Regions from separate parts of the Homo sapiens genome. Here region 1 is linked to region 2. The links are contacts of gene promoters, found by promoter capture Hi-C in blood cells and fetal thymus (Javierre and others, 2016). All regions are on one chromosome and are shown on one strand. Each heading gives the region's core, a stretch centred on a gene start or on the middle of the fragment in contact. The rest is flanking DNA. Distances are from core to core; before and after follow the strand shown. Region 1 holds the start of LOC105374226 (a long non-coding RNA gene). Region 2 holds the start of ZNF639 (zinc finger protein 639).

What was found. The method cuts DNA at HindIII sites, captures the fragments that hold promoters and counts their contacts. A CHiCAGO score of 5 or more calls a contact.
Region 1: a fragment that was not itself captured here is called in contact with the fragment with the promoter of ZNF639 in region 2 in 1 of 17 cell types (fetal thymus); the score reaches 9.5 in fetal thymus.

The regions. Positions count from the first base shown.
Region 1 is chr3:174,439,115-174,443,023 of GRCh38, reverse strand. LOC105374226 (a long non-coding RNA gene) reads left to right here and starts at 2,375. Exons shown (of 4, transcript XR_924729.3): 1 at 2,375-3,909. It also overlaps a transcript of NAALADL2 not described here. RefSeq lists enhancers at 1,625-2,276, 2,905-3,909. The HindIII fragment of the contact is 2,830 bases long and covers 778-3,607 here.
Region 2 is chr3:179,321,650-179,325,394 of GRCh38, reverse strand. It overlaps ZNF639 (zinc finger protein 639), which reads right to left and starts at 2,364. Exons shown (of 6, transcript NM_001303426.2): 1 at 2,104-2,364. RefSeq lists enhancers at 264-363, 1,405-1,454 and silencers at 2,025-2,164, 2,195-2,634. The HindIII fragment of the contact is 4,241 bases long and covers 1,269-3,745 here.

The DNA of each region.
Region 1 (3,909 bases), core at 943-3,442, 4.9 Mb after region 2:
CTACTTCTCCTCTATCCTCCATTCCACTTCAGCTACACAAGCTTCTTTGCTGATCCCTGAACACAGCAATGTGCCCGGCCTCTGCACTTGCTATTTCTCTGCGCCCGGAAACTCTTGCCCCAAATATATGGCTTACTCCCTCAACTGCTTCAAGTCTACTGAAATGTCACCTTCTCCAGAGGACTTCCGGTAAAATCCTATTTTAAATTACTAAACACACACTCTTTTTCCTGCTTTATGTAATAAGTCCATAGCACTTATTACGGTTTCACCTTATATTTTTCTTATGTACTACATATACTGTCTCCCTCCACTAGAATGTATATTCCAAGAAGCCAGAAGTTTCTTCTTTGCTTTATTCCAGTGTCAAGAACACTGCTTGGCACGCAGTAAGCAATCAACAAACAATTGTTGACTAATAAGTATTGAGTGTTCTACCTAAATATAATAATGCTTTATGTAAGCAATTAATAAATTACATTTCATTCTTGTTAGTCGTCCTACATTAAAGGTCTTTAATACTCTTTTTATGTTATCAGGAATGCATTACGTCATCCTTATTAAGAGGAGTTACTTTTACATTTCCCATAAGTCTTGAGATCAGACATTACTGCCGATTGTAAAGGAGAAAAAAAATCTCTAAAAAATTAAAGGTGAAAGTATTGTTAAAATAATTCCCCTTTCCATTAAGAATTCTTGGGGTGTGGGAAAAAATGGTGAAAATCGTACTTAAAATACCAAGAATCCAGTTTTAAACCCAACTCTTCCTTTTAAGCTTTTCCTCCCCCATTCTCCCAGAGCACTTCGTAGGATTAAGCCAGTGCTCACCATGGTCCCTTCTCCTGAGGACAGGAACGGAATCTCTTCTCTGTTAACCTGTCACCAGTCAGCACAGAATCTAACTCACAGATGACAAAGAACCGTTACCAAATCGAACTCACTGGAGTGGATACTACAGGATCCTATGACATAATTTTTAATGTTTGTCAAGATGTATTCCTTCAACAGAAGCAACACCATTATCTTAAGGTTCTCGGGTGGTTAAAAAAAAAGTCTATCTTTTCTGTTCCGCAGGGATAACTGCAACACAACTTTCAGTCCAGCAACTTAATCCACAGTTAATTAATCCTTTACACTCCTCAGGATGCAAGCCCTAGTAAATAAAGACAGCTTAAGGACCATAGGTTGAAATGTAAAGGCTACTGTATGCTATTCAATTGCTATTCTAAAAGTGAGGGGGAAAAGAACACAAGGCACCAAGAGACGCAATACAAAGGAAAAATGAAAAAAAAAAAAAAGCAAAGAATGTGGGGGAAAATAGGGAGGACGAGCTATGAAGCAATGCAACTGTAGGGCAAATGTGGTAGTAAGCCAGACGTTAGGGTAGAACCAGCAGCGCAGGCTCTGATCCCAGGCTGCTCTTTCCATGGCTTCTCATAAACTTCCTTAAGAAAGCCATCCTGGGCGTCCACTGGAGCGGCATTCCACGCGCGGGGGCGGAACTGTGCTGCGCGCCATTTCGAACGCGCGGGCCCGCGGCGCCGCTCTTTACCTGCGCCCCGCTAGCGCGCCGTGTCGGGCTGCCTGGCCGGCGTGCACTGCATACGTGTGTGAACGTGTCAGAAGCGGGGACTCGGAGCTGCTACGCTCCTCTCCTAAGACAAGCGGCTTCGGGAGGTGGGCGGGGGCCTTGGAGCGGGTTGGGAGCTCCTTTGGCCAGCGCGCCTCGCGGACTGCCAGAGCCAGGTGCCCCGCGCGCCACCCCGCGGAGTCGCTCAGAACCCGCCGCCGGCCGGGCGCCCCTCGGCCCCCGTACTTCACGCCGGGTCGGCGCCCCGGGCCCCGCGCAGGGGTGCGGCCCACAGCTCAGTCGCGCCAGCTTGGGTAGGACGGAGGAGCAAGGAGACACGGACCGCTCGGCCGAGGCCGCGCCGCCTCAGAGCGCGGAGCTTGTTTTGGCAAAACTTTGAAAAGAAAAGGACTCCGATTACCTGAGCGGCGCGGGCGCGGGCTCGTCTGCGGTACGGCTGCCGGGCCAGGCCGGATTTTCAGCAGCCGTAAAGCGGGAGAAGCGGGCGCGAGCCGCGGCGCGAACCCTCGCCCCCGAGCGGCGGCCCCGGCGCCTCCGCCGCGAGCGTCAGCCGCTTGGCAAGGAACGGGCTGGGCTGAGTCATAATAAAAGACGCGTTTGTCGAGCCAAGTGGGAAGAAGAGCCGCGGGCAGCAGTGTTCAATGGCACAAGCCTCAAAAATTGGGAAGGATTTTTTTTTTAATGGGCAAAACTGGAAACTTGCCCCCATGGTGCCCATCAAAAGATATGTTTCGTTTATAATTTGCATATATTTTATACATAGTCTTTGAATCTAATAAAACTTTTAAAAGAATTTTTAAAGCCCATTGCTTGCAGAGCCAAATTCCTGGTTATAGCTTCGTGACTTACGCAAGTTACTTGAATTCTGTGCTTTTGTTTTTCATCCATGAAACAGGATAATAAAGGTACCTCCCTCAAGAGAGACTGCGAGAGAGCTTGGCATCCTGCCTGCACTTAGCACTCGCTAAATGTTAATTGTTATTTTAAAATAGGAGGGAGGAGATAATAAAGAGGAACTTAGATAACAGTTTTGAATGGAAGAAGATACGAATATAAATCAAGATTTTTCTTTTTTCAAGTGGAGTAAATTAGACAAATTACCAATGGAAGAGAAGAAAGTGGAGCCTGGAAGGAACAAACGGGGCTAAGAGAAGTAGCTGAAGCGAGGGAAGGAAGAAGGGGGAAGGAGGAAAGAAGAGAGGAAGAGGGGTGAATAAAAGCCTCCAAGGAACAAACGAGGCTGAAAGATGTGGCTGAAGGTAGGGAAGGAAGAAAAAGGGAGGAAGAGAGGAAGAAATAAAACCAAGGAAGCAAGAATAAAGCTAGGCTGCGTGGGAAGAGGGGAGGAAGGAAGGAGAGAGAAATTCAACTAGGCTCAGTGGCCAAAATGCTGAAGTGTGTCCTGCCGGGAGGGAGTGGAGGAATATGTTTACTCACTATTTAGAAATGCATGACAAACTCCATCCGCTGAGGGAGATTTTTACAATGTATAAACAGAGAAACAACTGTCTAAAAATGAGCCCCAAATGAGGAGCCTTTGCTCCAGTGAATGAGATTTGGCAGTTCTGCAAAATGAGGAAATTCTTCCTTGTGCGGCATCTTGAAGGGTTGAGTCATGAAACCCACAGCAAATATTAGTGGGCTGGATTCCTGAAAGGCATGCCAGATGGACGCATTCTGGTTAGTTTTACTGTGTGATGTTCCCTTCTGTACTTCTGTCAATTTTAGAAGAAAAGAGTGTGAATAAAGATTTGAGAAGTGAACTTAAAAGCCAAACTAGTTACTTAATGTACGAGTATCCACCCACCAGGAGCTTACAGTTACAGATTCCAAAACAAGCAACCGTTTCTCCCACTTTCATTTTCCCTCCCCTTTGTTTCTACTTTCACCGTATTGCTTTTTATCCATTTTTATAATATGATTTTTTACAGTGGAACCGCCTACGGGAAAGGTGCTTTTAATTAATACGAAAGAATGGAAGGAATTTCAGCTAGGCCTCTCTAAGAGGGTAAAGCTTTGTGAAAGAAAGGTTTTTTAGCTGAAGTTTTAATGAGAATAAGAGTAGTTGGCAGATGTGAAATCAGAAGTTTTTTCAGACAAGAAAATAATACGACTCGAGTGAAAGGGAATGGACTAGAAATCAGAAACAGTTCTATTCCTTAATTACCGTAAGAACCAAAGACTGGAGGAAAGTTTTTCCTATTCTATAAAGAAAAATGGGGGCCTCCCTCCACCAGCCAGACCTTCAAAAAAGGAAAAAATAAAAATTAAAAACCTCTATTAGATTCTTGTAATGATTTGCTTTTTCTTAGGAGAAC
Region 2 (3,745 bases), core at 1,115-3,614:
GAACAGAATAGCCTAAAGAAACAGACAACCATGAAATGTACAGAAATGATACCAATATATAAAATACCTCACCTCGCCGGGTGCAGTGGTTCACGCCTGTAATCCCAGCACTTTGGGAGGCCGAGGCGAACAGATCACCTGAGGTCGGGAATTCAAGACTAGCCTGACCAACATGGGGAAACCCCGTCTCGACTGAAAATACAAAATTAGCCGGGCGTGGTGGCACATGCCTGTAATCTGAGCTACTCGGGAGGCTGAGGCATGAGAATCGCTTGAATCCGGGAGGCGGAGGTTGTGGTGACCCGAGATCACATCATTGTCCTCCAGCCTGGGTAACAGGAGTGAAACTCTGTCTAAAAAAGAAAGAAAGAAAGAAAAAAGAATAAAATCAAACGCCTCACCTAACAATGTAAACAATCATTCCTTGAGTAACCATCTCAATTCACTGCATTCAAAAATCAAAAAGAGAAGAGCTATTACGATTCATATAGCCCAAAGCTTCACACTTCATGTTCTAAATACTCTAAAAGTATCAGGGAGAACACTGAAAACACTCAGCCGAACATGTTAAGTAGTCTCTTGTTATTTCAGAATGCATCTCAAGTTCTTTGCAACTTGAAGAATAAAAGTAAGAAAAGGAAACCAAGCGTGGTATTAAAATCAACGTTGCAAGCTGGCCTGGATTCAGGCTGTTAGGTGAGAGGAGGAGGCACACGGATCAGGAAGGGTCTGACTCCTACTTAGGGCCGAACGATAACCAAATGTCTATCGGACTTCCTTTCAGCACAATGGTGATGCCTACTCAAGACCAAAAATGCTAACCATCCTTCATTTTAGCAATCATTTTTATGTGCCTTTTGTGTGCATAACAGCCTTGAAAAAACTTAGCTTTCTACTCAAGGATGTCATAAACATTTGCTCACTAGTCTTCTTAGCAGGAAGATTCTGAATCACAAGCAACCTATCACAGTCCCCCCTCCCTCTGAAATACAAACGACATATGTAACACGTGTCACTGCAGAAAAATCAGAAAAATGTTTAAAAATTTTTTATATCACCTAGAAACCAACATCTTTCCACCTGTCATTTTTTTCAACCAACAAGAAAGTCTATGCACAAAATAGAATACATACAACAGGCAGTCAGCAATCATCAAATAGATAAACGTTTCAAAAGGCCTTTCATGCAATGTATATTCTTCCTAATTGCTGTAAGACGTCTTTACAGTAAATAACTCCATTTTTAACGAGTTTAAAAAGAGTTAAGCTTTCTTTTTCGTTCTCATTAAAATAAGCATATGCTTTAAATTGTAAAAGAATTGAAACAAAAACATGTTGCAGGAGAGCCTGAACTAGAATCCACTACATGTCCAACGTGGAGGCAGTCTTTACTGCAATATCACACGGTCACTAAATACTTGATTCGCTATTTTTCAGTCCGGCATAAATCTTTCTCTTCGAAAAAAACAAAAAAGGCATAAACTGCTTCAAATGATTCGTTTCCCTAGACAGTACTTAAAGACAAAACCAAAAAAGGGGGTTTCTAAGCACCGTCACACGAGTGAGGCGACTCTCAGGCTGGAGGCTTTGGGCGCCAGCATCGACGCCTGCTCTCCGCGGCTACAACTCGTTGCGCGAGCCCGGGGATTCGCCGCCGGAGGTCACGAAGCCGCCGGGCAGGGCCGCAGCGCCAGCGAGGACCCAGGATCGTCCCGAGCCCGGACGCAGCCAGACAAATGCCCGTCGGAGGCGCAGGGCAGAAGTCCCTGGGACTTAGCCGCCTCCACCCCGGCGCCACGCACCAGCTTCGCCCGGGCCCAGAAGCCGGCGCCAAGGAGACTTCCAAGCCCCGACACCAAAGGTTCCGTAAAGACAACGGCAGCAGGGGGCCGAGGGGAGCCCGGCCAAGGCGTCCTGCGCAGGGGGTGGAACTGCCTTCGGGATGGGGGAGGGGAACGCCATCCCGCCATATAACGAAGGCAGAGTTTCCGTATAAAGGGAGCTCCGGTCTCTCCCGCCCTCTCCCGTTAGAAGATGCGCCCGCACGCCCGCGTCCCCTGGAGCAGTCCAGCGCCCGACCCACCCGCTCCTCCCTCACACTCACCAGTCAGTCCCCCGAGGCCCTCCCGGCCGGCCCACGCAGAGGCGGCGGCGGCCGAGAGCGCAGGCGGAGGGGCCGCGCGGTCCTTCCCGCGGACGCACGGCGGCGGGCAGCGCTGCTCCGGCCCTAGCGCTCCCGGACGCTGTGCTGGGCCGACCCCTCTCCCTCCCCGCGCGCCCCACGCCCTGAGCGCCAGGCCCCTGGCCTAGGCTCCGCGGCCGCACTGCCCTGGCCGCCACGCTCCGCGCCTGCGCCGCGCACCTCAGGGGCCCGCCGAGAGGGCGGGGAGGTGACGAGGTGAGGTGGGGGCAGGGAGCGGGCTGCGCGAACGCACCGCACACGCGGCCTGGGAGGGACCACCGGCCCGCAGCCCCGGGGGAGGCCCAGCGGCCCGCGCCCCCTGCCGGAGGCCTTGCGCCGCCGCAGTCTCCTTCTGGGCGGGGAAGAGCCCCTCCCGAGCCCCGAGGGCGATCCCACCCTCTAGGATTACTCCACGCCAGGCGGCCAGCGAATTTATCCCGCCCGCCTCCACCGCCCCTTCAAGCCCTGGGGAACTGGGAGAAACGTGGCGCGCAGCGGCACCTTTCCCACGCTGCTCCTCAAGGGAAAGGACGCGAGTGGTCTTGCCCAGGTTAGGCAAGGCAGATGGCATCTCAGACCCCGAAGTGTGCCAGCCGCCTGTTGGGGACAGAGAGGCCGAGGACCTCGTCACGGTTTTACTGAGGCCACACCAGAGAACCACCTAGGGCTAGGATGCTGCCCTCAGGGCAAGAGGGTGAAACCTGAAGACTGCGAGTCGTTGTTGAGTTTCACCCGATTCCTTGGCTCGAGAAATAGTGGAATGAATGAGGAGTTAAGGGGGACTGGACTCGACGATTTAAGTCCTTTCTCGACTTTGACTTTCTTTGAGCAGCTGTAGAAATGATTAAATTACACGAGCATAAATAAATTTGTGAACATGGTTCCATAAATGATCTCTGTGCAAGTGTGGTGATATGTTTAATTCAGTCCTTTTGACAATGAGTTGAGGTTTTTAGTCACATTTTACAAAATGGAAAAGTAAATGTGTGAGAAGCTAAAGACTGGGTCTTAATTCATTTTGGTAGCCTAAACCCCTGAGGTTCAAACGGTTAAGAGGATGACTGAGAGCCATGTGGATTATCAGGTACCCAAGGTCACTCGGATAGTTAGGGCTGCAATGATGTCTCTTTGTTCACGTCCACTGCTTTTTCTGACAACCACATGCCAATCAACCAATCAATCGCTGGAAAGTAATAATCACAGACTTTACTCTGATCCCTTCACCATCCCCCAGGAGATAAAGCTATATTTGAAAGAGACACTACTTGTTTGTGAGGCTCAGTTTTTATGACCTCCTAAGTTTTATGTGCGTACTCAGCTCAAATAAATGCTCACGAATGCTAGTATGGCCCGAATTAAAGTTCGAAGAAATGTAGAGACATTTTTAAATCCTAGAATAGTTAGTATCTAGCACAGAACCGGGAATCGGTGGAAACCACAAGGGGGTGTCATGCCACCATCTTACCATTTTGCCTTACCACATAGCCTTGTGTCCAACAAAATCTTTATATTTCAAAATGAAGTTTTACTCCAAAACATTTTGTAGTGAAAGTAAACGCACACT